7 separate regions of the Homo sapiens genome follow, and all the other regions are linked to region 6. The links are contacts of gene promoters, found by promoter capture Hi-C in blood cells and fetal thymus (Javierre and others, 2016). All regions are on one chromosome and are shown on one strand. Each heading gives the region's core, a stretch centred on a gene start or on the middle of the fragment in contact. The rest is flanking DNA. Distances are from core to core; before and after follow the strand shown. Region 1 has its middle 12 kb from the start of LINC02957. Region 2 overlaps LOC105379829 (a long non-coding RNA gene). Region 3 overlaps LOC105379829 (a long non-coding RNA gene). Region 4 has its middle 25 kb from the start of LINC02957. Region 5 has its middle 53 kb from the start of LINC02957. Region 6 holds the start of NFIL3 (nuclear factor, interleukin 3 regulated). Region 7 has its middle 6.2 kb from the start of LINC02957.

Region 1 (3,888 bases), core at 133-2,632, 410 kb after region 6:
ATTTAGACATAAAGGAAGGCTGTTCCTCAGTTTTAAGGAGGATGGAACCGTAGAGATGCAGGCCTTCAGAACAGGGTTTCTGATGGCTCTGCCTCCACTCCCAGAGAGTCTCTCAGTGGTGCCTCTTCTGTGCCAGACCCTTCTGCATAGGCGGGCAGATGCCATAGCACCCCCAGGCCTCACACCCACTCAGGGCCCCTTCTCTGAGGAAGAGAGATGATAGCATGTCACGTGGACCCAGAAGAGCAAGGGAGAACCTTCCCCAAATCCCCCAGCACAGCACTCCTCACATCTTTTCCACCAGAATTGGTTCACGTGCCAATTTTTGAGCCAGTCTCTGGAAAGAGCTATGAGCTTAGACAACCTAATGTAATCTCTGGATTAGGATTATCTTTCTCTGAAGAATATGGCAGAGAGTTTATGTTCTGAACAAGTTTGAGATTTCGTTAGTAAGGAGGAGGTGGAAATGAATTAATTCTAAGTAAACAACAATCAGTCACTTGAAAGAAAACAAAGATAGACTCCTACCTTGTTCCGTGCACAAAAAGTCCAAGTTTAAATAATGTATTAGTTCATTTTTGCACGGCTGTAAAGAAATACCCCGAGACTGGGTAATTTATAAAGAAAAGAGATTTAATTGGCTCACAGTTCTGCAGGCTGCACAAGAAGCATGGTCGGGGAGGCCTCAGGAAACTTACAATCATGGCGGAAGGCAAAGGGAGAGTAGGCATGTCTTACACGACAGGAGCAGGAGCAAGAGAGAGAGCAGGGAGGTGCCACACACTTTTAAACAACCAGATCTCATGAGAACTCTATCATGAGACAGCACCAAGGGGATGATGCTTAACCGTGAGAAACCATCCCTGTGATCCAATTACCTCCCACCAGGCCCCACTGCCAAACATTGGGTATTACAATTGAAAATGAGATTTGGGTGGGGACACAGATCCAAACCATATCAAATAACTAAGTGTAAAACAAACCCATACAAGTATTAGAAGAAAATATAGAAGAATGTTGCCTAATCTTGGGGTGAAAAAGGCCTTGTCAAGCAACAAACAAAACTCAAAGGACATACAGGCAGACAGAGGCTGGTTTCACGATGGAAGTTAATCATTTCTATATGGCAAAAAAACAGAGAGAGTCAAATAGCAAGTGACAGGGTAAAACATTTGAACTATATGTGGAGAAAGGTTTAATATCTCTCATATACAAAGAACTTCTTCAGAAAAGGAAAAATAAAGGTCCAGTTGAAAAGTATCAAAGGATATGAACAGGCAAGAGAAAATGCAAAAAGTAAGAGAAAATTAAAACTCTCGACCTCATTAGTATGAGGACAATTAAAATTAAAACAACAAAATGCCAAATTTACTATCAAATTTTAACAAATTAGAGAAAGTTTATAGGATCCAATATTGGAAAGGATTTAGAGAAACTGTACTCCCTGATTTTACAGATGGGAGTGTGCATTGCCCCAAATGTTAGAGGAAGTAATCTGACAGTATCTGTTAACTCTATGATGGAGAAATCCCACTTTTAGCAATATGTTTTACAAAAATTAAAAAAATAGAAATATGCCCAAAGATATTCTCGTGCATTTATTGTAACAGAAAAACACAGAACACAATCTGAATATCTATCCATGGTGGAATTGCTGTAAAAACAATGCAGCATACATACTGTGCACTAGCATTGATATTAAAGGCGTGGGTTAAACCCTGAGTAAGAAGGCATAAGAAGGCAGCAGTGGTGGCATAATTGTGAATGTTCTGGAAACCCTCAACAAATCCAACCAGAGCAATTGAAATAATAAAAACTCATTATCTATGAATAACATAACAAAATGAGTTGATAAGGTGTCTCCCAAACCACAAATAAAAGCGGGTGGAGTCAGACCACAGATGGCAACAAGGCCTATGTGATACAGGCTGCTGGGCAGGAGGTGGTGAGGGAGGACAGGACACTCTATGAATGCTCCACACCAGCCAGCCAAAGTTGACCTCCTGACAAACCTCCACAGTGAAGAGGACCCTGCCACTTTGCTCTCGAAAGTCTCCTGTCTCTCTCAATCATCACTCGTTTATTTAAAAAAAATGTTGTTTGTATTTTTGTTGATATATCATGGCTATACATATTTTGGGGCTACATGTGATATTTTGATACCTGTATCCATTATGTAATGATCAAATCACGGTAACTGCAATATCCACCATCTCAAGACTATATTTTCTTTGTGTTGGGAACATTACAATTCTTCTCTTCTAGCCATTTTGAAATATGCAATAAATTATTGTTAACTATAATTTCTCTGCTGTTCTATAGAATACTAGAAGTTATTCCTTCTAACGATATTCTTGTACACATGAATCAACTTTTCTTCATCCCTTCACCTTCCTTCCCTTCCCTGTAAAAAGTATTTTTGCATCTATATATATGAGAGGAATTTGCCTGTTCTTTTCCTTTCTTACAATGATGTTGCTTGGTTTTGGTGTCAAGGTCATGCAGGCTTCAGAAAACAGGTTCCTGGGGGTTTCATTGATTTCTGTTCTCTGGAGGAGTTTGTGTAAGATTTGCATTAGTTTTTCACTGGGCAGCCATTTGGGTCCGGAGTTTTCTCTAAGAGAAGGTTTTAATTTATGGTGTTAATTTCTTCAATATTAAAGGATTATCCTTGTTTATTATTTCTTCTGGAGTCAGCTTTGGTGAGTTGGAGTTTCCTAGGAATTTGTTTACTTTTCTCTTAAAAATTTAAGTTTATTGGTTTATTGTAATTATCATCTTACTATCACATTCCTATCTCCAGAAGCTATAGTGATGTGCCCCCCTCCTGACCTCCATTTCTGATTCTTGGGATTTGTGTCCTCTTTTTTACATTGATAAGTCTTAGCAGGAGTTTGACAAGTTGCTTCTTTCAAAGAAAGAACTTTCGCTTTATTGAGCCTTTGTATTAGATGTCTATTTTCTATTACATAAATTTCTGTCCTCTCATTTTATTCTCTTTCTCCAACTTTGCCTTTTTTTAAAAAAAAATTAATTTGGTAATCTCATTCTAATTTCTTTAGATGGATACTTAGACCACTTGGTATTTAGTTATTTATGTTCCTTCATGTATCTGTTTAAGTTTTAAAATTTCCCTCTAAGCACCGTGTTAGCTGCATCTCACAAGTGTTTAGATTTTTGTTATCAAGTTCAAAATAATTCCTAATTTCCATTGTAATGTCTTCATTGATCCTTGAGTGCTTTAGAAATTTATCCCTTACCTTCCAAACATATGGGAATTTTCTAATTAGCGTTTCATTATTATTTTCCAGATTAACTGAGCAGTGATCAAACAGCTCCATGGGACAAGGAGAAGCTGGGCTCACCTCATGGAATATGGCCAAGACCTCAATGGGCCTGGAGGTGATGTGGTGGCAGCTGGGGCAGAAGCAGCTGGGGACCTCTGCAAACAAGGGGTGCGGGTCCCTGGAGTCAGGAGAGGCTGAATGCATCTGATAAGGGGCATAAATTGTGTTCAATGAAATATCTTTCATTAGTTTGGGGAAATCTTCACCCAGTATCTCTTAATGTTGCTTCTGCTCCAGTCTGTGCTGTTACCTCTGAACAGGACACTGTATTCTCTTGTTTTTCACCCTTTCTTTTATGTTTCACATCTGTTTGTCTCTTTGTGCTTTATTTGGAATCTTTTCTTCTAGTTTATATTCCTATTTACATATTTTCTCCTTAGCTGTATCTCTTCTGCTATTTAGCCCATTATAAGCTTTAATAGCAACAATTTTATTTTTCAGAAGAATGTCCATTGTTTTTCTTTAAAAGTTTCCAGTTTTCTGTTGAAATTTTCAGTCTTATTCATAATCTGCTTAAATATATTGAGGTAGTTAATTTATA
Region 2 (3,467 bases), core at 391-2,890, 490 kb after region 6:
GCTGCCTAGAGTAGCTCTTTGCACAATGGAACACAATCTTGAGTGCAGAAATGATGCATCCATCTAGAAGACTCTTCAAAAGAGGTGCATTTCTCATGAGTCAGTAAGTCTCTATGCGCAACAGGTCACAATAAATTGGAAATGCTAGTGTTGGGATGTTCTTTATTATTAATGATAGGAATTTCTTCATTGGCCTTTAAAAAAAACTCCTGGAAGGTGAGTATTAGCTGGAATCGGATTTGCTGTCCTGCCCCTGAAATTCAGCCTTTCTTCCTCCTTTCCCTCCTCCATATTAGATTATTTTCTAACTACAGCACAAAGGCAGCCCATGGATTTAATTACTTGGAACCATATTTCCTTTCATTAAAGGGATTTCCTTTAAGTCCTAAACACGTTTGACATTCAGCCTATCTACTTTAAATAACAAGTGATCTTCTTTGTTCTCCAAGGTTGCTACAATAAACGTGTTATTTTTAGGTTTTAAGTGTCAAAGTTTAACATAATCTCTATTCACCCCCTGCTTCCCAAGAAGGAAATATTTTTGCATATACAATTATATACAAGCATATTCTTCTGTTTTACTTTATCTTTACACAAGTGGGACTTTAGAAAGCTTACTATTCTGTAACTTTTAGCACTTCTTTATCACTTCTGTAACTTTTAGTACATCTTGGACTTCTTTGCTTAGCAGGACAGATGATGGAAAGCCATCAGAATAGCAAGGATATATTGAGCATTTCTCATGTGCTGTGTGTTAAACTAAGCCCTTTAAGTGGATTGATACCTTTGATCTACACAGCAGATAGGAAGTCGGCACTTTCTAAATCAATCCTGCTCTTGGAGAAGGTTATGCATGTAAACCCACCTGGCCCCAATTCCTCACACTCTAACTGCCTGTTATAAAGCCAGCTCCTGCTTTATAACAAATACTTGTATCTACTTGGTAAGTGCCCTCTCATCTCTTTTCTTGTTTAGACTCTCTCCAGCTCCATTACAGGGACATATTAATAGATTCTATTAGTGCTTAGGATATAGAGTGCATAGGAAGAATGGACAGTTTTATAATATTATGCCTTTTATTCCAGAAAAAGATGGAGATTTTTATATAGTGAAAGAGAGACTGGGTCAAAGACGCCTCTGGGTATGTTGTTGGCTCCTTTCAAGTACTTCTTATGGCTCTTAGCACAAAGACAAAATTCCTGCCTCTGTGCCAGGTTTTTGCCATATGTCCAGCTTGTCTCATCCAATATGGGCACATGGCCCCTCAGTTCTTTGAACAAGAAGGCTCCATGCCACCACAGCACAGGCCTTTGGACACAGTGTTCTCTCGATCTGGGATGCTTCCGCCCTCTACCCAAATAACTCCCACACGCCCTTCAGATCCCAGCCTGAACACTGTTTCTTCAGAATGCCTTTCATGGCATATACTGGCATTACCAAAATTTTTGTCATTTTGATAAAAGAAAAACTACATACAATAATTTTATCTACATTTATTTGTGTTTGAGTTGAACATGTTTCTTGCCCATTTTTGTTTCCTCATAAACAGCTCGTTCGTACTTTTAGATCATTTTTATGGAGTTGTTTCTTTTTATTTATTCACAGGAACTTATTTATATTAAAGAAATCATTTGTCCTATTTCTTCTATATATCTTTCAGTTCAAATACCAGTTGGTTATTTGACTTTTACATTTGCTTAAGGCATTTTTCTTTCTCAAAAGGTACTGGTTTTTATGTAGTCAGAGTTGTTAATGCTTTCTTTTAATGTTTTTCGTGTGGAACTAAGAAAAGGCTCCATTTCTCCAAAGTTAGTAGTAGAACAGGGAACCAGTTTTGTTTTTTCTTCCAAATGGCTATCTAGGTGAGCCAAGATGAGATACTGATAAGCCATCTTTTCTAAGTGATTTGTTTTTTGTTTTCTTTTTTGAGACAGAGTCTTGCTCTGTTGGCCAGGCTGCAGTGCAGTGGAGTGATCTCAGCTCACTGCAATCTCCGTCTCCTGGGTTCAAGCAATTCTCCTGCCTCAGTCTCCCGAGTAGCTGGGACTACAGGTGTGCACCACCACACCTGGCTAATTTTTGTTTTTTTAGTAGAGACAGGGTTTCACCATGTTGGCCAGGCTGGTGATTTTTAAATGGCAGCTTAGTCTATACACTTAGTTGTCATTGGTTTCTGTTTATTTCTGTATTGCGTATTATTTCCTTGATGTGTGGTCTAATTCTGTTCCATTATCAGACTGTTATAACTAATGATGCTCTAGAACAGACATTGGCAAACTCTTGCTGGAAAAGACCAGATGGTGAATCTATCAGACTTTATGGGCCTCATAGGGTCACACACAAGTTTTTAAAAAAAAATGCTTTAGGGCCGGGCGCGGTGGCTCACGCCTGTAATCCCAGCACTTTGGGAGGCCGAGGCAGGCGGATCACGAGGTCAGGAGATTGAGACCATCCTGGCTAACATGGTGAAACCTCGTCTCTACTAAAAATACAAAAAATTAGCCGGGCATAGTGGTGGTCGCCTGTAGTCCCAGCAACTTGGGAGGCTGAGGCAGGAGAATGGCGTGAACCTGGGAGGCAGAGCTTGCAGTGAGCCGAGATGGCGCCACTGCACTCCAGCCTGGGCGACAGAGCAAGACTCCGTCTCAAAAAAAAAAAAAAGCTTTAAAATTGCAAAAAACATTCTTTGCTCATGGGACATACAGAAACAGCTCATGAGCTGGCTTGGCCAACTCCTGCTTTATAACAAATACTCATATATACTTGGTAAGAGTCCTCTCATCTCTTTTCTTGTTTAGACTTTCTCCAGCTCCATTACAGGGACATATTAATAGATTCTATTAGTATTTAGGATATAGAGTACATAGGAAGAATGGACAACTTTATAACATTATGCCTTTTATTCAAGAAAAAGAGATTTTTATATATTGAAATAATCTTCTTTTATGTTCACACTGGGGACTTAATATTTCCTTCTCATCACATGTTCATATTTCTTAAATTTATTCCTAGGACTTTGGTTTTTTAGTGTTATTCTGAGTGGCATTTTTCTTCCATTATATTTTCTAAAGAGTTGTTATTTGTATATCAAAAAACTATTTATTTTATATTAATTTTGTAAGTGCCGCCTTTTATTATTATTATCTCTTAGTGTTTCTAATTGTTTTTCAGGGTTTTCTTTTGGCTTTAAGTATATTGCCCACAATGAATAACAGTAAGCCTTTTCTTTTCCAAAACCTATGTTTCTTATGCTATGATCTTGTTTTATCGCACTGGTTAGCACTTCCTGAATGATGTAGTGAAACTGAGCATCTTTGTCTTGTTCCTGCGAGGCCTGGACCTGCTACCCCAGATGAAGCCCAGCCTCAGGGGTGAGGCTGCCCAACAAGTTCCTGACTCAGAGGAAGCCACAGCTTGAGTTGTCATCGATGTTGCTGTTGGCCCAGGGGTGAGTTGGTACCACCTAA
Region 3 (3,536 bases), core at 449-2,948, 470 kb after region 6:
GCTACAACCCATGCTGGGTGTGTATTTTCTATGTTTTCCCGTGTACTCCAGGACATGGTTGCCTAGGAGCTACATTTCCCCAAATCTCTGCTAGAGGGCTCTGGTTTAGATGCCAGCAGTTAGAGGCACTCTCAAGGTACATGGAAGGGAGAGGAACATGGAGTGTTCTTTTAGAAGCAAGTAGTTCCGAAGCCTCAGACCTTTGCAAGCCTCTGGGCCTTTGCAAGTTTTCTTTCCTCGGCAGGGAGCCTTTTCTCCCCCAGAGAGACACACTTCTCACCCATTTACATCTTTACTCAGATGTATCCTTCTCTATTAGGCCTTCCTAACCGCCTTATTCAAACCCACTATGCACATTTTAGTTCCTTTCCTAATTTATTTTCTCCTCTAACACTAACACTGCATGACCTACTACGTAAATACAGTACTTATTTATTTCCTTCACTAGGATGCACACTCCACAGAGACAGGCGTTTCAACCTGTTTTATGTACTGCTAGAATAATGCCTGACATAGAATAGGTATGCAATGTATTTGTTCATTGATCAAATGCATGAATATAGCACATTATTCCAGGCCCTGAAATTTCTTCTGAGCACTTCTTTAGGGATAACCCATAGGTTCTGGTTTGTCAAGCTTTTATCATGGTCATAGTCTACATTCTGCTATTTGGTTTTAGTTTTCTTTTTGAGTTAGGAGTTGGTTAAGATATGGGTTAAGAATGTCCAGATCGGCCAGGCACGGTGGCTCACGCCTGTAATCCCAGCACTTTTGGAGGCCGAGGCAGGCGGATCACGAGGTCGGGAGATCGAGACCATCCTGGCTAACATGGTGAAACCCCTTCTCTGCTGAAAATACAAAATATTGGCCGGGTGTGGTGGCAGGCACCTGTAGTCCCAGCTACTTGGGAGGCTGAGGCAGGAGAATGGCGTGAACCCGGGAGGTGGTGAGCTTGCAGTGAGCCGAGATTGCACCACTGCACTCCAGCCTGGGCGACAGAGCAAGACTCTGTCTCAAAAAAAAAAAAAAAAAAAAGAATGTCCAGATCATAGGGATTGTTTGCTTGCTTGTGTGTTTGCTTTGGCAGTTTTCAAATATGGCTTGTTTTTCTGATGCCAAAATCACACCAGTTTTTTAAGTACCTGAGCAAACTGTGTTATATAGTAAAGCACATCTCACATTCTGTTTCCTGCCCAGTTGCATAGGGATGGGTGGGCTGGAAGCTCAGACACACCACTTCCCCTGAGAGGCCTTCTCCCAGGTTTCTGATGCCTTCCCTCCCTATGTCTTCTGACATCCCTTTTGACCTTGCTCTTAGCCATTCTCCCTCTTATGTCAGAGTTTGCGGGTTTAACCATCTTTAGGCTCATCAGAGATGCAGTTTTCATTTCTGTTCCCTATATTCCTTGTTGCCATTGGGTGATTTGCCAGAAAGAAATATCGTTGGGCAAAATAGCCAAGAAATTAAGGAAAGGAAGAAAACAAAGATTTTGTGCTATCATGTTAAAACCAGATATTGTGAAGTTTAGACTACATTTGGAATAACTTGTTTTAGTGTACAGTTGATCCCCTCTACCTTATTGGACCCCCACATCTATCCTAGTCCTTCACAAACAACCTGAAGACAGATTAGATGTATTCATTGATGTCTTTCTTACAGCCACTATTTGTTAGTAGGAATGGATTTGCAAATACATCACAGAGACTGAGTGCTTCCTCCTAGATAGCGCTTCCTCCTTCTTCACTTGAAGCAGTTCCCATTAGGAGAATTATTGTACTTGCTAAGGCTACATAAACCTGATGGATAAATTTAATCAAGAAGTGATGAATTGAGGTGAATAAGGCCAAATGGCAATTTTTCTATGAAACTCCCATTTATAATTAAAACAAAAGTATAAGAATGGTTATAATTGGCCAGGCGTGGTGCCTCACGCCTGTAATCCCAGCACTTTGGGAGGCCGAGGTGGGCGGATCACGAGGTCAGGAGATCGAGACCATCCTGGCTAACACGGAGAAACCCCGTCTCTACTAAAAATACAAAAAATTAGCTGGGCGTGGCGGCAGGCACCTGTAGTTCCAGCTACTTGGGAGGCTGAGGGAGGAGAATGGTGTGAACCCGGGAGGCAGAGCTTGCAATTAGCCAAGATTGCGCCACTGCACTCCAGCCTGGGCGACAGAGTTGAGACTCTGTCTAAAAAAAAAAAAAAAAAAAAAAAAGAATGGTTATAATTATAACCTGAAATATAATTAAATATACATTCAATATATGTCAATATTTTAAGTAATTACGATTGCAGCACTTATAAGTTTATTTTACATTCTTAGAGGATAGCATCATTGTATTCAAAGTACATAGAACCTGGCACATAATAGGTGCTCAATAAATGCTTATTAAGTGCATAAATATAAGAATACATATAATCTGACTTATATCTAGTAGCATTTCATCATTTCATGTGTTTGATTTGCAAACCTACCTCTGCACAGTTCCATAGGGTACAATTTTCTGGAGTGTTTGTAAGGACACTGGGGCCACCTATGCCTTCATGCTTATCTTATTATTCTAGTCTCAATTTCATCTCCCTGACTTTTCTAATTAATATGGGGAAGGGCTTCCCCAGGGAATTTTGTTTCTGATTGTTGAGAGACAGTAGAATTCTTGACTAACAGTGGCTTCGTGTTTTCACTCAATGTTTTCTGCCTTCTTGCCTCACAGATAATTGAAGAAAATCCCTTAAGTAAACACAGCAGGAAGCTTCATCCTAACCATTGTCACGAGACTATTTTTTCCTAATAGACATCAACATTTATTTTTGTTATTCTTATTGGCCTTATTTATTGACACCAATTGTGTCTCTTTCTAAGGATTAGTAATCCTTACCAAATATCACACGGACTTTCTTACCTAAAACCAGCTCCCAGTATTTAAAAACAAAACAGAACACTTTCTTCCTTAGATATTAGATCAACAATGGTTTCTTCCTTTCAAAAAAACTCAAGTATTTTAGGCAGATCAGAACATTTGTCAGAAACACATTTTCAAGTGTGTTCTTATAGCGCTATCAGGACTGTGGAGCCTTTGCATACCACTGACTTGGCCTTTCTGCACTTCAGTTTGCAGGACTGTGAAAATAGGTATAATGATATGTTTTTCAAGTGTTTTTTGTGAGAACTAAGTCAGGGAATAAATAAAGCATCTGGCATATAGTAAGCTCTCATAAATTGTTAGTTCCCTTCTTTTGACAAAATGAAAGGACTTTTTAAGCACATTTATTTGTTGTTTAAACAGTTCTGCCAGCATCAGTCCTGAGGCACAGGCTAAATAAGACGCCATGATTTTCCCTGCATGGAGACCAAGTCAGGGAAACGATGTGGCATAACAGCTCAACCAGGCAGGCAGGGATCAGAGACTGTGGTGGGTATCTTATGGTGGCTCCACGAACAACCAACAAGAGGAATAACTCAGCAGCTTGTAGCTGTTTGGAAGCAGCAGTAGCAAACAGTCTGGAACCCTGGCCAGCCACCCCATCTACAGG
Region 4 (3,748 bases), core at 935-3,434, 450 kb after region 6:
AGGTCAGGAGTTTGAGACCAGCCTGGCCAACATGGTGAAACCTTGTCTCTACTAAAAATATGAAAATTAGGCCAGGTGCGGTGGCTCATGCCTGTAATCCTAGCACTTTGGGAGGCAGAGGCGGGTGGATTGCCTGAGCTCCGGAGTTCCAGACCAGCCTGGGCAATACGGTGAAACCCCGTCTCTACTAAAATACAAAAAATTAGCCAGGTGTGGTGGCATGCACCTATAATCCCAGCTACTCGGGAGGCTGAGGCTGGAGAATTGCTAGAACCCGGGAGGCGGAGGTTGCAGTGAGCTGAGATGGCCTCACTGCACACTAGCCTGGGTGACAGAGCGAGACTCCATCTCTAAAAAAACAAAAAACAAACAAACAAAAAAACTGAAAAGTAGCTGAGCATGGTGGCATGTGCCCGTAGTCCTAGCTACTCGAGAGGGTGAGGTGGGAGGGTCACTTGAGCCCTGGAGGCAGAGGTTGCAGTGAGCCAAGATTGTGTCACTGCACTCCAGCGTTGGCGACAGAGTAAGACTATCTAAAAAAAAAAAAAAGAAAAGAAATGAAAGAAGAATGCATGCTGCTACTTTCATATGATAGCTGACTTCCTAAAGGGATTTTTCCATGCCCATCTGAAGAGGTAGAATGATCTGTTTAACGAAGTGGGGACAGAGTCAAGCACTTCCCTGGAACAGGGCGGGGGCTGGGGATGTAAGGTTGTGTCTGTCCATTTATTGAAAAATGTGCCACGTGCTTAGGCAGACAACTTGCTTGGCATTTCTTTCTTTCTTTCTTTCTTTTTTTTTTTTTGAGACGGAGTCTTGCTCTGTCGCCCATGCTGGAGTGCAGTAGCACGATCTTGGCTCATGGCAAGCTCCACCTCCCGGGTTCACGCCGTTCTCCTGGCTTGGCATTTCTATAGCAGTTGTGTGAAATGTGATTCTTCCTTTCTCACTTCTCACCCCTATAATTTTCATTTGCTTATGAGACTTTTTGAGGTCTAGCTACCCCTGTGCTCAGACAAGTGGCCTACATATGTTCAGTTAAAGGGGGACCCAGTTGCCCAGAGACAAGCCCTCCGACCAGAGGGAGCCACAGTTCCTGGGTGGGCTCATGAGTAATGCAGCTTTGTGTCCTGCTCTGCCCCTCCAGAGCTTGGAGACCACCCCAGCTCCCTTTCTGCTACTGGTTCCAGTTTCTTTTTTCCTGTGGGTCATAAGCTTTCTACCGCTCATGAAACAAAAGGGGTAAAAAGGTTTCTGGCTGTCAGTTTTTCATTTTTTTCTGGTGAGACAGTTTCATAGTTGCCATAGGTGGGGGGTGGAAACTAGCCTTGTTGGTGATGCTAGTTCTGCTTTTCTTTTTTCTTTTTTAACTACGAAAGAACTTGATTTCTGATTCTTGGTAGCAGAGCCTTTCTGCCTGAATGGCAGGCGTGGCCAGGACTCTCATCTATGCTTGCACCTGTAAGACAGGACACCAGGATCCCCAGCCTTGTGAGGCAGTGCCACCCTTGGGGATTAAGAACACGGGTGCCGGGGTGCCATCTGTCTTGGATCTGCGGGCTGAATGGGTCTGGGTGCAGCCAGGTGTGTGGAATCTCACAGCCTCACAGTGACTGCAGCACAGCCAAAGGCGAGGACAGCTGCTTGCTGTATCATTTCTTCCATCACACCTCAGAGGATGCGGAATCCTATTCCCACTCTATTCCCCTTTACAACATCCGATGTCAGCGCCTTCTGAGCACTTTGAATCCCGAGACTGCCTACGTAAATCTGGAGATGGGACTAAACCATAAATATTGATTACTTTTTTAATCACCTATTAACTAGATTCAACCACTCCTAAAAACCTAGCTGCATTCTCAGAGTTGATTTGATCAGCTCAGTTAGAGGGCACATATGTCCACACTGTGGGGCAGCCATTGTGTGATTGTTTCTTTGGCCACCCTTCTCAGCCAGCTCTTCACCCTCCTGATAAGAAAGTGCTGGAAGGCACAGGGCTGGAGCTGACCCACAGTGAGGCCTGCTGGCCGTCAGCCTCTCTGGAGGCCTTTGAAGCAGGCCCAGAGTGGTTTAGATTGGCCATGGGCACCAGAGCATTTAAAGGGACTCTGCCGCTTATCTTCCTCCTCCTCTTCTGAGCAAGATTGCAATATTCCTGCAGATAATTTTGCATTTTCCATGCCCATCTTCTTGAAGAATTGTCATAAGATGGAGGTAGCCTGGGCTGTCCCCAACCTGCTCTGCCATCCCTGTGGCAGGTTGTCTGGCTGTGCCTCAGTTTCCTCACCTTTCCACGTTGGTCAGGCTGGTCTCAAACTCCCAACCTCAGGTGATCTTCCTGCCTTGGCCTGCCAGCGTGCTGGGATTATATGCATGAGCCACCACACCTGGCCTTCATTCTTTACTGACTAAAGTAACCATGAATAAAAAATGCATATAAGCCACCTGTCCCATAGCAGGTACTTAATACACGGTAGCTATGGTTATTTTGTGTAGGTCTGAGTGAACATAGACCACGTTTCCCATCAAAATATATGGGGACAATCAAACAAATAACAGAATCCCCCAAGGAAGCATCCAAGTGTAATTCGATTTCTAGCGTTCACTGTTTATGTGAATGAACTCTTGTAATGCAGCGCCAGGCCTTTCTTAGCTACTAGAAAAAAATGACTTCTGTATTTCTAGGGTAAGGGATGCCGCTTTACACCCGGGTTGAGACTTGCCAGGCCTCTTATGTGTCGAGAACAATGGGGCTGGAAGGAGGCTGGCTGGGGTAGGAGCAGGCTGCAGCAAGTCCTTCCCAAAGCCGCAGGCGTTTCTCCACTCAGCACTGAGGCCATCACATGTGGCTGCCTGTGGACATCAGCAGGGCCAACGAAGTGAGTCAGGTGTTGAGGGATGTGTGTGTCATGCCATCATAAAGCCAGGATCAAGACATCTGCCCTCCCGGGATGAAGAGCAGTGTTATCCCTTAATGCAAAGCTCAGGCTCAGTGGTCCTCTTTCACGTATTTACCTTCCTAAAATTTCACCAGGTGCATAATAGCACAATTAATAGCGCTGCCTCGTATCCCTAATACTAACACCCTCTGCCTTGTAAGGATTTGTGAGTCAGCTATAAAATTTCACTGAAGATTGTTTTGCCCAAGCTTGATTTCCTTCATGCCCATAAGCTCTTAGACACCACTTTCTGTTTTTCTATTTTCAGACTGAATTGAACAAAAATATTTAACTTTTACTCAGTGCTAAGTCTTTGCTTTCACTTTAAAATACATGATCTTTTCCAAACCATACACATATATTTTAATGGGTTGTTACTAGTTCATACTTGATCCATATTTTGTAGCTGAAAAAGTCCAAAGGCTGGAAGGTTTGGTTTCCAGAGCCCTGGACATCCTTGGAGGCAAATGCAAGCCCACTGTAATGAAGCAAGAAGGGAGTCTGGCTGTACTGGGTGCAGCCTGGTGCTGAGGCCTGGCCCTTTGATTTCTATGTGTGGGAATGCTCAAGTTGTAACTACTCTAAGTGGAAATTAGGAAAATGGGGACCCTGGGGGGATGGTGATCCAAGTTGCCAATTGTCCTTTAGGACTGTCATTGTTTTTTCTCACATTCTTGTCTTAGATTCTGCAGATGTGGTGATGTGGCGGGAGTAGTTAATAGCAGTAGTCATGGTATTTAACATCTGTGAAATCATACACACTTGGTAACCTTATGTTGATTCCACACCACACCATCTAATCACCATTT
Region 5 (3,728 bases), core at 625-3,124, 370 kb after region 6:
ATATTTGGTAGAATTCACCAGTGAAGTCGTGTGGTCCTGGGATTTTGTTTTGGGAAGGTTTTTGATTACTGATTCAATCTTCTTAACTTATTATTAGTCTGTTTAGATTTTCTAATTCTTCATGATTCAGTATTAGTAGGTTGCCTGCTTCTAGGAATTTGTCCATTTTTTCTGGGTTATCCAATTTATTGGCAGAAATTTGTTCCTAATAATGTCTTATAATTCTTTTTATTTCCATGGTATCGGTTGTAATGTCTCCTTTTTTATTTCTGATTTTATTTAATTGAGTCTTCTCTCTTTCTTTCTTAGTCTAACTAAGGGGTTGTCAATTTTATTTATCTTCCCCAAAACCAAACACTTAGTTTCCTTGATATTAAAAATGTGTTTCTGTTCTCTGTTTTGTTTACTTCTGCTGTAATAATTATTATTTCCTTCGCTTTGCTCACTTAGGCTCAGTTTGTTCTAGTTCCTAGAGCTCTAAAGTTAGGTTGTTGATTTGAGATCTTTCTTTTTTAATGTAGGCATTTATTGCTGTAAACTTTCCCTTATAACTGCTTTTGATGCATCCCGTAAGTTTTGGTTTGTTGTGTTTTCATTTTCATTTGTCTTGAGATATTTTCTTATTTTCCTTTCGATTCCTTCTTTTACTCAATGGTTATTCAATATTGTGTTGTTTAGTTTCTACATATTTGTGAATTTTTCGGTTTTCCTTCTGTTATTGATTTCTAGTTTTATCCCATTGTGGTTTAAAAAGATACTTGACATGATTTCAATCTTCTTAAATTTGTTAAGGCTTATTTTTGTGACCTAACATGTGATCTATCCTGGAGAATGTTCCATCTGAGCTTGAGAAGAATGTGTATTCTGCTGCTATTGGATGAAATATTCTGCACATGTTTATTAGGTTCATTTGGCATGTAGTATTGTTAAAGCCCGCTGTTTTCTTACTGATTTTCTGTGTGGATGTTCTATTTATTACAGAAAGTGGGGTATTGAAGTCTCCTACTATTATTATATTGCTGTCAATTTCTCTCTTCAGACCTGTCAACGTTATCTATTTAGGTGCTCTGATGTTGTGTGCATACAGTGTATATTTACACTTGTTACATCTTCCGAATGAATAGACCTTTTAATTATTATACACTGACCTTCTTTGTCTCTTTGGACAGTTTTACCTTAAAGCATATTTTGTTTGTTATAAATACAGCCACCCCCACTCTCTTTTGGTTTCCATGTGCGTGGAATATTTTTTTTCCATCCCTTTACTTTCAGCCTATGTATGTCCTTAAATCTAAAGTTAGTCTCTCCTAGATAGCACAGTTAAATCTCTAATCCATTGTTATTTAAAATCCATTCAGCTATTTTATATCTTTTGATTAAGAAGTTTAATCCATTTTTATTTAAAGAAATTATTGATAATCAAGGACTATTGTCATTTTATTTGCTTTATTTGTTTTGTAGTTCTTTTGTCCCTTTTTTGTTTTTTCACTGTCTTCTTTTGTGATTTGATGATTTCTTTGTAATGATATGTTTTGCTTCCTTTCTCTTTTTATTTTGTGTATCTACCATAGGTAATTTCTTTGTGGTTATCATAAAGCTTACTTATGTAAATCATCTTATTTCAAGCTTTCAATCATATACAAAAACTATACTCTTAGTCTCCCCACATTCCACATTATGTAAATGATAGCACAATTTATATCTTATATATTGCATATCCATTAACACATTTTGGTAATTATAGCTATTCTTTTTTTTTTTTTTTTTTTGAGACGGAGTTTTGCTCTTGTTGCCCAGGCTGGGGTGCAATGGCGCGATCTTGGCTCACTGCAACCTCCACCTCCTGGGTTCAAGCGATTCTCCTGCCTCAGCCTCCCAAGTAGCTGAGATTACAGGCATGCGCCACCACGCCCAGCTAATTTTGTATTTTTAGTAGAGATGAGGTTTCTCCATGTTGGTCAGGCTGGTCTCAAACTCCCGACCTCAGGTGATTCGCCTGCCTTGGCCTCCCAAAGTGCTGGGATTACAGGCATGAGCCACGGAGTCTGGCCTAATTATAGCTATTCTTAATACTTTTGTCTTTTAACTTCTATACTAGAGTTAAAAGAGATTTACAAGCTTTTATTACAGTATTACGGTATTATGTATTTGTTTCCATATTTGTCTTTACCAAATTTACATTTGCATATGCCTTCATGTTATTGTTTAGCACCCTTGCATTTCAACTTGAAGAATTGCCTTCAGCATTTCTTGTGGGGCAGGTCTTGTAGTGATGAGCTCCTTCAGCTTTTGTTTATTGCCTCTAATAGATTACTTTGTGAAGTACTTAAAATCCTTTATATACAAAGTCATATCATCTGTGAATATAGTTTTACTTCTTGTTTTTCTTTTATTTCTTGTTCTTGCCTAGTTGTGCCAAAAGAACATCTTTGTCTTTTTAAAAGACACATTCTCTAGGGTAAAACAAGGGTAGCCTGGTGCCTCATTGACTCAGAATTGAAAGGAGTCTTAGAAATCATTTACTCACTCATTCCTTTATTTGTCAAATATTTACTCAGTGGTCACAAAGGGCTAGATGCTGGAAGGACAGCAGAGAGAAGACCCCTGCCCTCGTGGGATTGACAGTCAGAGGGCAGGGATGTGCATCCTCCCTTTGTCCAGCACCTCCCTGCCTCCTGCCCATTAGTTGCTTAGCAGCTGGCTGGGTAATTGGATCAGTTGTCATGGTATTACAGGGCTTGTGCACAAGAAACCCTTATTTTATTTAATCATGGCCCCAAACGGCAAGAGTGGTGATGATGGCAATTCATATATGCCAAAGAAAGCCTTAAAGTGCTTCCTTTAAGTGAAAAGATGAAAGTTCCAATAGTAAGCCAAGTAAAGTATTGTATGCTGAAGTTGCTAAGATCTTTTTAAGAACAAATCTTCGTCCTGTGAAATTGTGAAGAAGGAAAAACAAAGTCATGCTGCTCTTGCTGTTGCATCTCCAACTGCAAAAGTTATGGCCACAGTGCAGATGAGCGCTTTATGTAGGGGTTGGTACTATCCGCGGTTTCAGGCACCTACCGAAGTTCTTGGAACGTGTCCCCTGTGGATAAGGGAAGACCACTGTAGTTATTACTGTCCGCAGTATAGAGTTGGGGATTCTGAGGCTTAGAGATGTTAAATGAATTGCCTATAAATACAGCCAGGAAGGGATGTCACAGAGAACACGTGTCCCCTGCTAGTAAGAAACTTTAGAACCCAGAAAAAGTTTTTGGCATTTCCATCAGAAACTCCATTGGATAACCTTTCACACAGTGACAGACTGGAAATGCCAATGGGACAACTCACACTTGCTTATGCTCTTGAAGTGGAAAAAAAAGTACAACAAAACACAACTCCTGCTGTAAGGCAGACCTCAGGCACCGAGAGAAGCCTGCCATCATCCTGTCTCTCTGATGACTCAAGTGTAGAAACGTACTAGATTTTTGGATATGTGGGTTTGATTTGTGACAAGTTGCTGATGTTCTTTGGCAACATGTCTACTCATTCCACTCAATTAGACAACTAGAAATTACCGATCAAGCATGGAGGGATTTTTGTGAAGTTTTTAAAGAGACTCAAAACTGAAATTTAAGTATGGCAGTAGGTTGCAAAAAAAAAAAAAAAAAGGAAAACTAGCATATCATTTCCTTCTTTTGATGAATTAGATTTGAACTTTAAAGTAAAGGAAACCAATCTGGTTT
Region 6 (3,779 bases), core at 257-2,756:
AACTGTGCAAGAAGGGGAAAGGTAGAAAAGACAATCTTGGCGAGTAGATAGATCTGCTGCTCATGGCAGACACTAGGGATGGTACCTGGGTGTTCACTCTGCTCTTCTCTTTACTTTGGTTTTTGCTTTTTAAAAACGAAAGGAGCAAAAAGAAGTGGAAAGTCGTGGAGGCACTCGGCCCAGCCCCCACGTAGTTCAAGGAGACCAGGAGGGAGCTGGCTGGTGGAGGTCCTGCCCACCTGCCACACTCCGTATTTGGGCAAGCCTGTGAGTCACTGTCGGGAACATGGCTCCCTTCGCCAAGGCCAGCACTGACCACTATCCGTGTATCGGTAAACGCAGGGAGTGTGCCACGTGCCTTGACAGTCTAGCGCGACGACTTAAGAAGTCGCGGCTAGGTGCTCTTTTTTCCATTTTTTTACGTCTCTTCCGTAGCCCGGGAATTTGGGAGAGAAGACTACCGTATCCAGTTAGACGCAGAAATAACACTAAGCAGCTATCAGCTCAAAATCACAGGAAGAGATCCCGCGCGGTCGTCTCAAGCCCCAGCACCAAACGACAGTGGGCGTCCCAGCGGGGGCACCCGAGCGCGGACCTTCACATCCTCCGAGGAACGCCGCACCCGCGTGGCGGGGGTGGGTAGATGGACCTCAGCGAGCCTCGTTTCCCAGTCGTGTTACGCAACAACTTTGCAGCCGTCATCTTCGCCCTAATTGTGCAGGGGGCGGTGTTTGTGCGTGGAGCTTTCCCTCCCGGCTCCGGGCCGTCGCGGCTCTCGGGAGAGGCGCCGGGACATTTTAATCGCTGCCTCCGCCGCGCAGCCCTGCGCAGCTGCCCGGCCGCGCCAACCCCTTCCCCGCCGCAGCGCGCCCCGAGTGTTGGCAGCTTGCCAGCCGCCACCCCCCGCCTTCCCTCCTGCCCACCCCAAGGTAGAGGGCTCCTCTCGGGAGTGTGCGGGGAAGGGGAGGCCGAGGTCCGGGCCACGCCCGGGTAGCCGCAACCCGCAGTGCTCAGTCGGCAACAGGTAGCCCAGCAGGCTGCGGCTCTCAGGAAGACAAAAAGCGCCTCTGCGAGCAAGTGAGGGTCGCGGGGAGCGCAGAGCCACCGCGGCGACCGGGAGGGTGAAGGGAGCCAAGAGCGGACGGGGCGGTGGGACGGGGGGCTCCCGGGCTCCTCCGCAGGCTCGCTCCGGTCGTGTCGGCCGCGTGGGCCGTTGCGCAACACTCGTTGCGCCGGGAATGGGGCGCCAGCCCTCGCGGGCGCTCGGACGGCGGTGGCCCTGGCCGGGGAGGGACGCGAGCTGGTAGTGGCGCCGCCGCGGAGGGGGAGCTGAGGGCGGGGAGGCGGGGCGGGGCCGCGGAGTGCCCGCCCCGGCCCGCCCCTGCCGGCCGCGGCCATTGGCGGCGGGCCGGGGGCGGGTGCGGGCGCGGCGATTGGGGCCGCGGCCGCCAGTCACGCGGGGCTGGCGGGCGGCGACGTAGCGCGGCGCTCGGAACTGACCTACTAACACACATCTCTCCGCGCGGCCACGGCGCCCGCGGACCCGGCGCGCCCGCCCGCCTCCCGCGCCGCGCCCTCGCCGCCGCCCGCCTCCCGCCGCGGCCCCGGAGGCCCGGCCCGGCCCGAGCCCCGAGCGCCGGCGGCCCGACTCCCGGCCGCCCCTTTCTTTCTCCTCGCCGGCCCGAGAGCAGGAACACGGTAAGCGCTCCGCCCACCGCCGGCCGGGGGCCCGGCGACCGCTCCCAGGGCGCGCTGCGGGCGGGCGGGCGGGCGCGGGGTGCGGGCCGCGCTGTGTGCGGGGTCGGGCTGTAAGCTGGGCTCGCCAGCGGCGGCGAGTGCGCGCGGGGCATTCATTACATAAACTTTTGCTGCCTTGTCAGGATGGGACTCGCCACCTTAAGGTGGCTGCTTTGATTGCAGCGCCTTCGCGCCGGCACGTAGTCCTGGCTGGTTTGCGCTCTCCCCCCGCTGCTGTTGCATAATGTCTCCTGATTTCAGGAAAATTGATGTTTTGGTAAAGAAGAGCGCCAGGCAGGCTGAGCCCTCTCCGAGCGGGAAGATGCTCTTTCCTCTCTAGTGTCTTTCTTTCTCGTTCCTTCTCTGGGGCTGGCGGCGTAGGGGGGAGAGGAATGGGGGGTTGAGGAATGGGGAATAGTCTTAATTTGCTTGGTGAGAAAAAGGGTTGGTAGCGTGAACGGTGACGGCATTCGGAGAATGCCTGCGCGGCGTTTGTTTGTGTCAGGGGCTGTGTCTGCACAGACGTTTTCCACCCTGTTTGTCGTCAGCGTGTTTTACAAGCCCTCGGGAAGGTTGTGGGATTTGTCCTTTCATACATTGCATAATCTGCCCACGGTGAAATGTTGGCAAGAATTGCGGGCTGATGTGGGAATATGCGCGTATGTGTGCAATGATTTGGTAATTGAGGCGCAGCGTTGGATATTAGATCGTTATTTACGTCTATATTACGTCCCAAATAAACAGGTTTTAAAACGATACTACAAAACCTAAAAGCAAGAATTGCTCGCATTGAATTCTGATCTTGGGTACTACTGGGGTTCGCCCTTTCAATGTTCTCAGCTGTTATTTTTAAATCTGGGACGAACCATTGTGACGTTTACCTCCCCACCTTCCTAATTTTAATGCATTCCATTCGATCAGCCCTTTTTCTCACCTTATTGTCATTGCTTTTTCAGACACGACAAGACAAATCACATAATAGTTTCCTGGAAATGTTGCATTATGTAACTGCCGAATTTGCTGGCAGTGAGCATAGAGAGAGGGAGCTAATTACGTGATTTTATAATCTTGCTACAAAGAAAGTAGGACAGTCTCAGCCTTTAAGAATGTCACTATAACAGTTTTTTTTTTTTCCTTAAGGATATTTTAAACAGGAAAGTAGACAACCGGGTAAGCATGGAGTTTGCTCATGCTGCCGAATGTGTGTCTTTTGCCCTAAATGAAACGCACGTTCTTCTAAATTTAGCCCTATCACATTTTAACAATTGTGGCCTCGCAGTGCTATTTCTGGTGTTTTCTCCAGGGCTGTGTGCAAATACAAGTTCAAGGCCATTTGCTGTAGTTTTAACTCCACGCCTTCGGAGACCTTTGATAAGATTGTATTTTTAGGAAGGCATTTCGCAGCGCCCGGTGATTTGCTGGATGCTGGCTCCCATTTATGTTTTTAAAGGACACTTTAGGAAACTGCTGTTCTCTGAGAACAGCAGGGAATGGCCAAGTGTCATCTTCTGTTCTTGGCTTTTGTAAATAACAACAGTAAGTGAGGTCAGAAGTATTTATTTACCCCCAGACCAGATATGACCTATGGGAAACAGATATAGGTTAGTAGATTGTTTTTTTGTCTGGATACCCTGGTTTTACTTATGTGAAGATGTGTGAATATGTAATTTACCCAAATATTAAATTTCTTCCTGGACTGTTACATAGTGATTATGTGTGAATATATGTATATGATGGGATGTATATATAACGTAACATTTAAATTAAGTGCAGGGTTTTTTTTTGTGGGAGGTGGGGGGTGGACGTCTCTGGAACAGAGTATATTACCCCAAATAATTGCAGTCGCTTTCCAAGAAGCTAGTTGCTCTAGGCCCCCAGCTTCAGACCCCGACCTACTTTGCGAGCTCGGGTGGGAGTCCCAGGCCTGTAGGGGCCGCGTGGCGCCACCTTCCGATCGCGATCTCCAATGGCGAGTCCGTGCGGCCCCCAGTGCGCCGCTCCCTCCTGCGGGCCGGTGGGGTCTGCGAGAATCCGGGGCTGGG
Region 7 (3,574 bases), core at 879-3,378, 430 kb after region 6:
CTAGCATCCCTATTTTCTTCCTACCAAATGCCAGAAGCACCCCCAATTGTTGTAGCAAATGGTTAAACTCAGAGTCTGATTCTGTCATGGCTTAATTACAAAGCAAATTGAATTCATTAACTCACAATTTGTCTTTTGTGAAATTTAGAGCACTGACTGGGAAGAAGTGGGATTTTGAAAACTGGAGTATGGACATAGGAAGAGATGCAAGCAAACTGGGGGCCTCAAACCCCTAAATTCTACCATGTCTTCATTGACAGCTGTGTAGGAAAGAGTTTTAACAGAGCAAGGCCTGAGAATGCTCTCCTTAGAAAGGTCTGCTTATAAGGTTGAGCCTTGGTTGATTTCTGGGAACTTGGATTTTGGGAGAGTTTCCCTATTCCCTAAATGGCAAAGGTTGCTCACGCTGTTTAACCTGATTGTGCAAACAATTTGATCTAGGCTGAGATTGATTTTCCTTCTGGGACTCTGGAATTTTGGTATGTGCTAAGCAGACAGTGGTTGTGTGAACAGCCCTCAATAAAAACCCTGGTCTGTCTCTCTGGTAGATGATATTTTACAGGAGTTGTCACAACTAGATGCTGGAGAAATTAGTCCAGGCTCTGTGACTCTGCAGGGAGAGGACTCTAGGAAGCTGTGCCTAGTTTCCTCCAGACTTTGTCCTATTGACCTTTTTTCTTTGCTGATTTTGCTTTTTTATCCTTTTGAGGTAATACATTATAACAGTGAGTACAACTGTATGCTGAGTCCTCCTAGATAATCACTGAGGTGGGGAGTGGTCTTGGGGACCCCCAGTACAACAGTAGAAGCAGCTTCTTCCCCCTGCCTGAGGTTATCCCCCCTTTACTGAAGACTTATGATGAGCTTTTCTGACCTAGTGACCCTATAGGCACTGCTGATCCTCCTCTGGACCTAGAGACCTATCGTGAGGCTCAAGTCCCAGTAGATCCTAAGGTGAAGTACAAGTTGTGACCCACAGAGAGGTGTGATGGACACCAAAAGAACTATGTGATGTTTCTAGCTTATAGTGACAGAAACCTGGGGAATATGTGTGGGAATGGATCTTAAGGGTGTGGCATCAAAGTGGAAGGAATATAAAGTTGTATCAGTCTGAAATTACTGATACAGGCTCACTGAGAGTATGGACTCAGTGTTTTAAAGTGATGGGTTAGAAAGGACTCTAATAGTTTGATTGGTTGACTGAGATATGTGTGTTAAAGACTCTGCCAGTGAAGTCTCAGAAAAAAGTGAGGAGCATTATAGAAAAAGCTGAATCACTTTAAACAGATTGCTAGTAGAAATCTGGACTTTAAGGATACTACTGACATGGGCCAAGAAGGAAGTGAGAAACACGTTATTGGAAACCTGAAGAAAAGAGATCCTTGTTATATAATTGCAGAAAGTTTAGTGAAATTGTGTCCAGTTGTTACATAAAAAGCAGAACTCATAAGTAATAAACTGGAATATATAGCTAAGGAAATTTCCAGGCAAAGTGTTGAAGGTGCTGCTTGTTTTTTTCTTGCTTTTTATGTTAAAATGTAATAGAAGAGAGACATATTGAAGGAAGACTTATTGAAGGGACAACGACTTGATAATTTCAAAAGTTTAGCCTCTCCAGGTGGCAAAAAATACCCCTAGAAGTCAGAGATGGATGCCAAAATTATGACATAGAGAAAAGGCTGAATATGTGTTTGTGCAGCTCTTTGCTGAAACCCTGGAAAGCTCAGAGGTCTTGTGTATTCAGCCACATAATGACTCTTCCAAGGGATTAAGAGTGTTCCATGTAGATCTTCTAATCAAACCAGAGAGCCTCTGGGAAGCTTAAAAACACTGGTGTTCAGCACTCCAAGCAGAAGCCAAAGATAGAGAAGAGATTATTAGAGAAAGATTTGTGTGTATAGCTTTTGTCTAATGCAGAGAAACCCAGTGAAAATACACACAAGGCCCACACACTTTAGAAAAAAACATTGTATTAGTGGAAATATTTTAGCAAAACAGATTAGCAGAAAATAAAGATGCCAACTAGGACTAAATGGAATATAGATATTACAAAATGGCAAAAGCAGACTGATAAAATTCCCCAGCTGCAAACACCTGTCACCTTTTGTGAAAAACGGAGCATGACTCTAAGAGCTAAAGCAGGAGCCCAGAAGTTGAAGATGAAAGCCCAGAGCAGCTGAGAGACACAGGTTACCTGGCTTTGAGACCTGGTGGATTTTGCCCAGCTGGGTTTCAAAACAGATTGAAACAAATGACTCCTTTTTACCTTCCATTTCCCCAATTTTGGACTTGAGTTCTATAACTGTTATTCTTTCCACCATTGTGTGTTGGGAGTATTGGAGAAAGATACCTTGTGTCTTTTATTTCACAGGTGTGTAGGTGGAGACAAATTGTGCCCCTGGAGCTGTACTTAATGGGTGACACTCAGAAGCTTTATCTACACCTGATTCAGATAAGTAGATAATGAGTTTTGGGCTTTTGAGCTGGTGAGATTCTGGACTTTATCTAGTGTGATAATGGGATGAGACTGTTGGAAACCTTGGGGAGCAGGTAAATGTTTTCTGCAAGTGAGAGTGAATTATGGGGCCAGAGTTTGTACTCTGGTGGACAGAACTGTAGGTGGCCCTAATGATCTCTGCCCCCATTGCAGCATCCATGATTAGGTTAAGTGATATAGCAAAGAAATCCTGCCTATGTGGTTACGGTCACTAATGAGTTGATGTTAAAATAAAAATATAATCTGGGTGGGCCTAACCTAACCATATGAGCCCTTTAAATATAGAGTTTTACATAGATGGACCTGGAATCATTATCATAAGTGAAATAACTCAGAAACGGAAAGTTAAATACTGCATGTTCTCACTTGTAAGTGGGAACTACACACTGGGTATGCATGGACATATAAAGTGGAATAGCAGATGTTAGAGACTCCAAAAGATGAGGAGATGGGAATGGGGTGAAGGTTAAAAAACTACCTATTTGGTACAATGTTCACTATTTGAGTGACGTGTACGCAAAAGTCCAGATTTCACCATGATGAAATATATCCACATACATGTAACAATACTGCACTTGTACCTCCTAAATCTATTTTTTTAAAGTGGAGTTTTATCTGATTGGTAGAAGAAGAGGAAGTCAGAGAGATTCCAAGTATGAGAAGTATTTGATGAACAATTACTGGCTTTGAAGATAGAGGAGGCCATGGAGCAAAGAATGCAAATGGCCTTAGGAGCTGAGAATGGCCCTTGACTGACAGCTAACAAAGAAATGGAGAAGTCAGTCAAGCAATAGCAAAAAATGGAATTCTCCCATCAACCTGAACAAGCTTAAAAGCAGACTCTTCCTCAGAACCTTGGTTAGAGCCCAGCCCAGCCAAAATTTCAGCCCTGAAAGACCCTAAGTAGAGACCCCAGTTGAGCCCACTTGGACTTCTGACCTACAGAACTGTGAGATAATGAATGGAAGTTGTTTGAAGCCATTAAGTTTATGGTAATTTGTTACACAACAATAGCCAACTAATAGACTCCATAATCCCAACAAACAACCTTAACTTCCATAAACAACTATTTATTGA

Evidence for each region. Contacts are between HindIII fragments. The CHiCAGO score rates a contact against its expected background, and 5 or more counts as called.
Region 1: a fragment that was not itself captured here is called in contact with the fragment with the promoter of NFIL3 in region 6 in 10 of 17 cell types (endothelial precursors, activated CD4 T cells, M0 macrophages and 7 more); the score reaches 10.2 in endothelial precursors.
Region 2: a fragment that was not itself captured here is called in contact with the fragment with the promoter of NFIL3 in region 6 in 6 of 17 cell types (naive CD8 T cells, activated CD4 T cells, non-activated CD4 T cells and 3 more); the score reaches 7.3 in naive CD8 T cells.
Region 3: a fragment that was not itself captured here is called in contact with the fragment with the promoter of NFIL3 in region 6 in 3 of 17 cell types (endothelial precursors, naive B cells and naive CD8 T cells); the score reaches 8.0 in endothelial precursors.
Region 4: a fragment that was not itself captured here is called in contact with the fragment with the promoter of NFIL3 in region 6 in 6 of 17 cell types (endothelial precursors, activated CD4 T cells, M0 macrophages and 3 more); the score reaches 11.1 in endothelial precursors.
Region 5: a contact is called between a fragment that was not itself captured here and the fragment with the promoter of NFIL3 in region 6, in 5 of 17 cell types (megakaryocytes, total CD4 T cells, monocytes and 2 more). The highest score is 6.6, in megakaryocytes.
Region 7: a fragment that was not itself captured here is called in contact with the fragment with the promoter of NFIL3 in region 6 in 8 of 17 cell types (endothelial precursors, activated CD4 T cells, M2 macrophages and 5 more); the score reaches 14.8 in endothelial precursors.

What each region holds. Positions count from the first base shown.
Region 1 is chr9:91,006,863-91,010,750 of GRCh38, reverse strand. No RefSeq gene overlaps it. Among named protein-coding and RNA genes, the nearest start is that of LINC02957, 12 kb to the right of the region's middle. The HindIII fragment of the contact is 4,761 bases long and covers 1-3,762 here.
Region 2 is chr9:90,927,615-90,931,081 of GRCh38, reverse strand. LOC105379829 (a long non-coding RNA gene) reads left to right here. Exons shown (of 4, transcript XR_001746828.2): 3 at 1-103; 4 at 3,333-3,467. Among named protein-coding and RNA genes, the nearest start is that of LINC02957, 68 kb to the left of the region's middle. The HindIII fragment of the contact is 2,049 bases long and covers 616-2,664 here.
Region 3 is chr9:90,949,972-90,953,507 of GRCh38, reverse strand. The region is part of intron 1 of LOC105379829 (a long non-coding RNA gene); the gene reads left to right. Among named protein-coding and RNA genes, the nearest start is that of LINC02957, 45 kb to the left of the region's middle. The HindIII fragment of the contact is 2,119 bases long and covers 639-2,757 here.
Region 4 is chr9:90,969,886-90,973,633 of GRCh38, reverse strand. No RefSeq gene overlaps it. Among named protein-coding and RNA genes, the nearest start is that of LINC02957, 25 kb to the left of the region's middle. The HindIII fragment of the contact is 1,933 bases long and covers 1,218-3,150 here.
Region 5 is chr9:91,047,820-91,051,547 of GRCh38, reverse strand. No RefSeq gene overlaps it. Among named protein-coding and RNA genes, the nearest start is that of LINC02957, 53 kb to the right of the region's middle. The HindIII fragment of the contact is 492 bases long and covers 1,629-2,120 here.
Region 6 is chr9:91,421,559-91,425,337 of GRCh38, reverse strand. It overlaps NFIL3 (nuclear factor, interleukin 3 regulated), which reads left to right and starts at 1,506. Exons shown (of 2, transcript NM_005384.3): 1 at 1,506-1,698. LOC105376146 (synapsin-1) reads right to left here and starts at 1,305. Exons shown (of 2, transcript NR_188612.1): 1 at 1-1,305. LOC124902209 (a long non-coding RNA gene) reads right to left here and starts at 3,716. Exons shown (of 2, transcript XR_007061661.1): 1 at 3,634-3,716; 2 at 3,279-3,319. RefSeq lists a silencer at 1,169-1,568. The HindIII fragment of the contact is 22,022 bases long and covers 1-3,779 here.
Region 7 is chr9:90,989,066-90,992,639 of GRCh38, reverse strand. No RefSeq gene overlaps it. Among named protein-coding and RNA genes, the nearest start is that of LINC02957, 6.2 kb to the left of the region's middle. The HindIII fragment of the contact is 611 bases long and covers 1,823-2,433 here.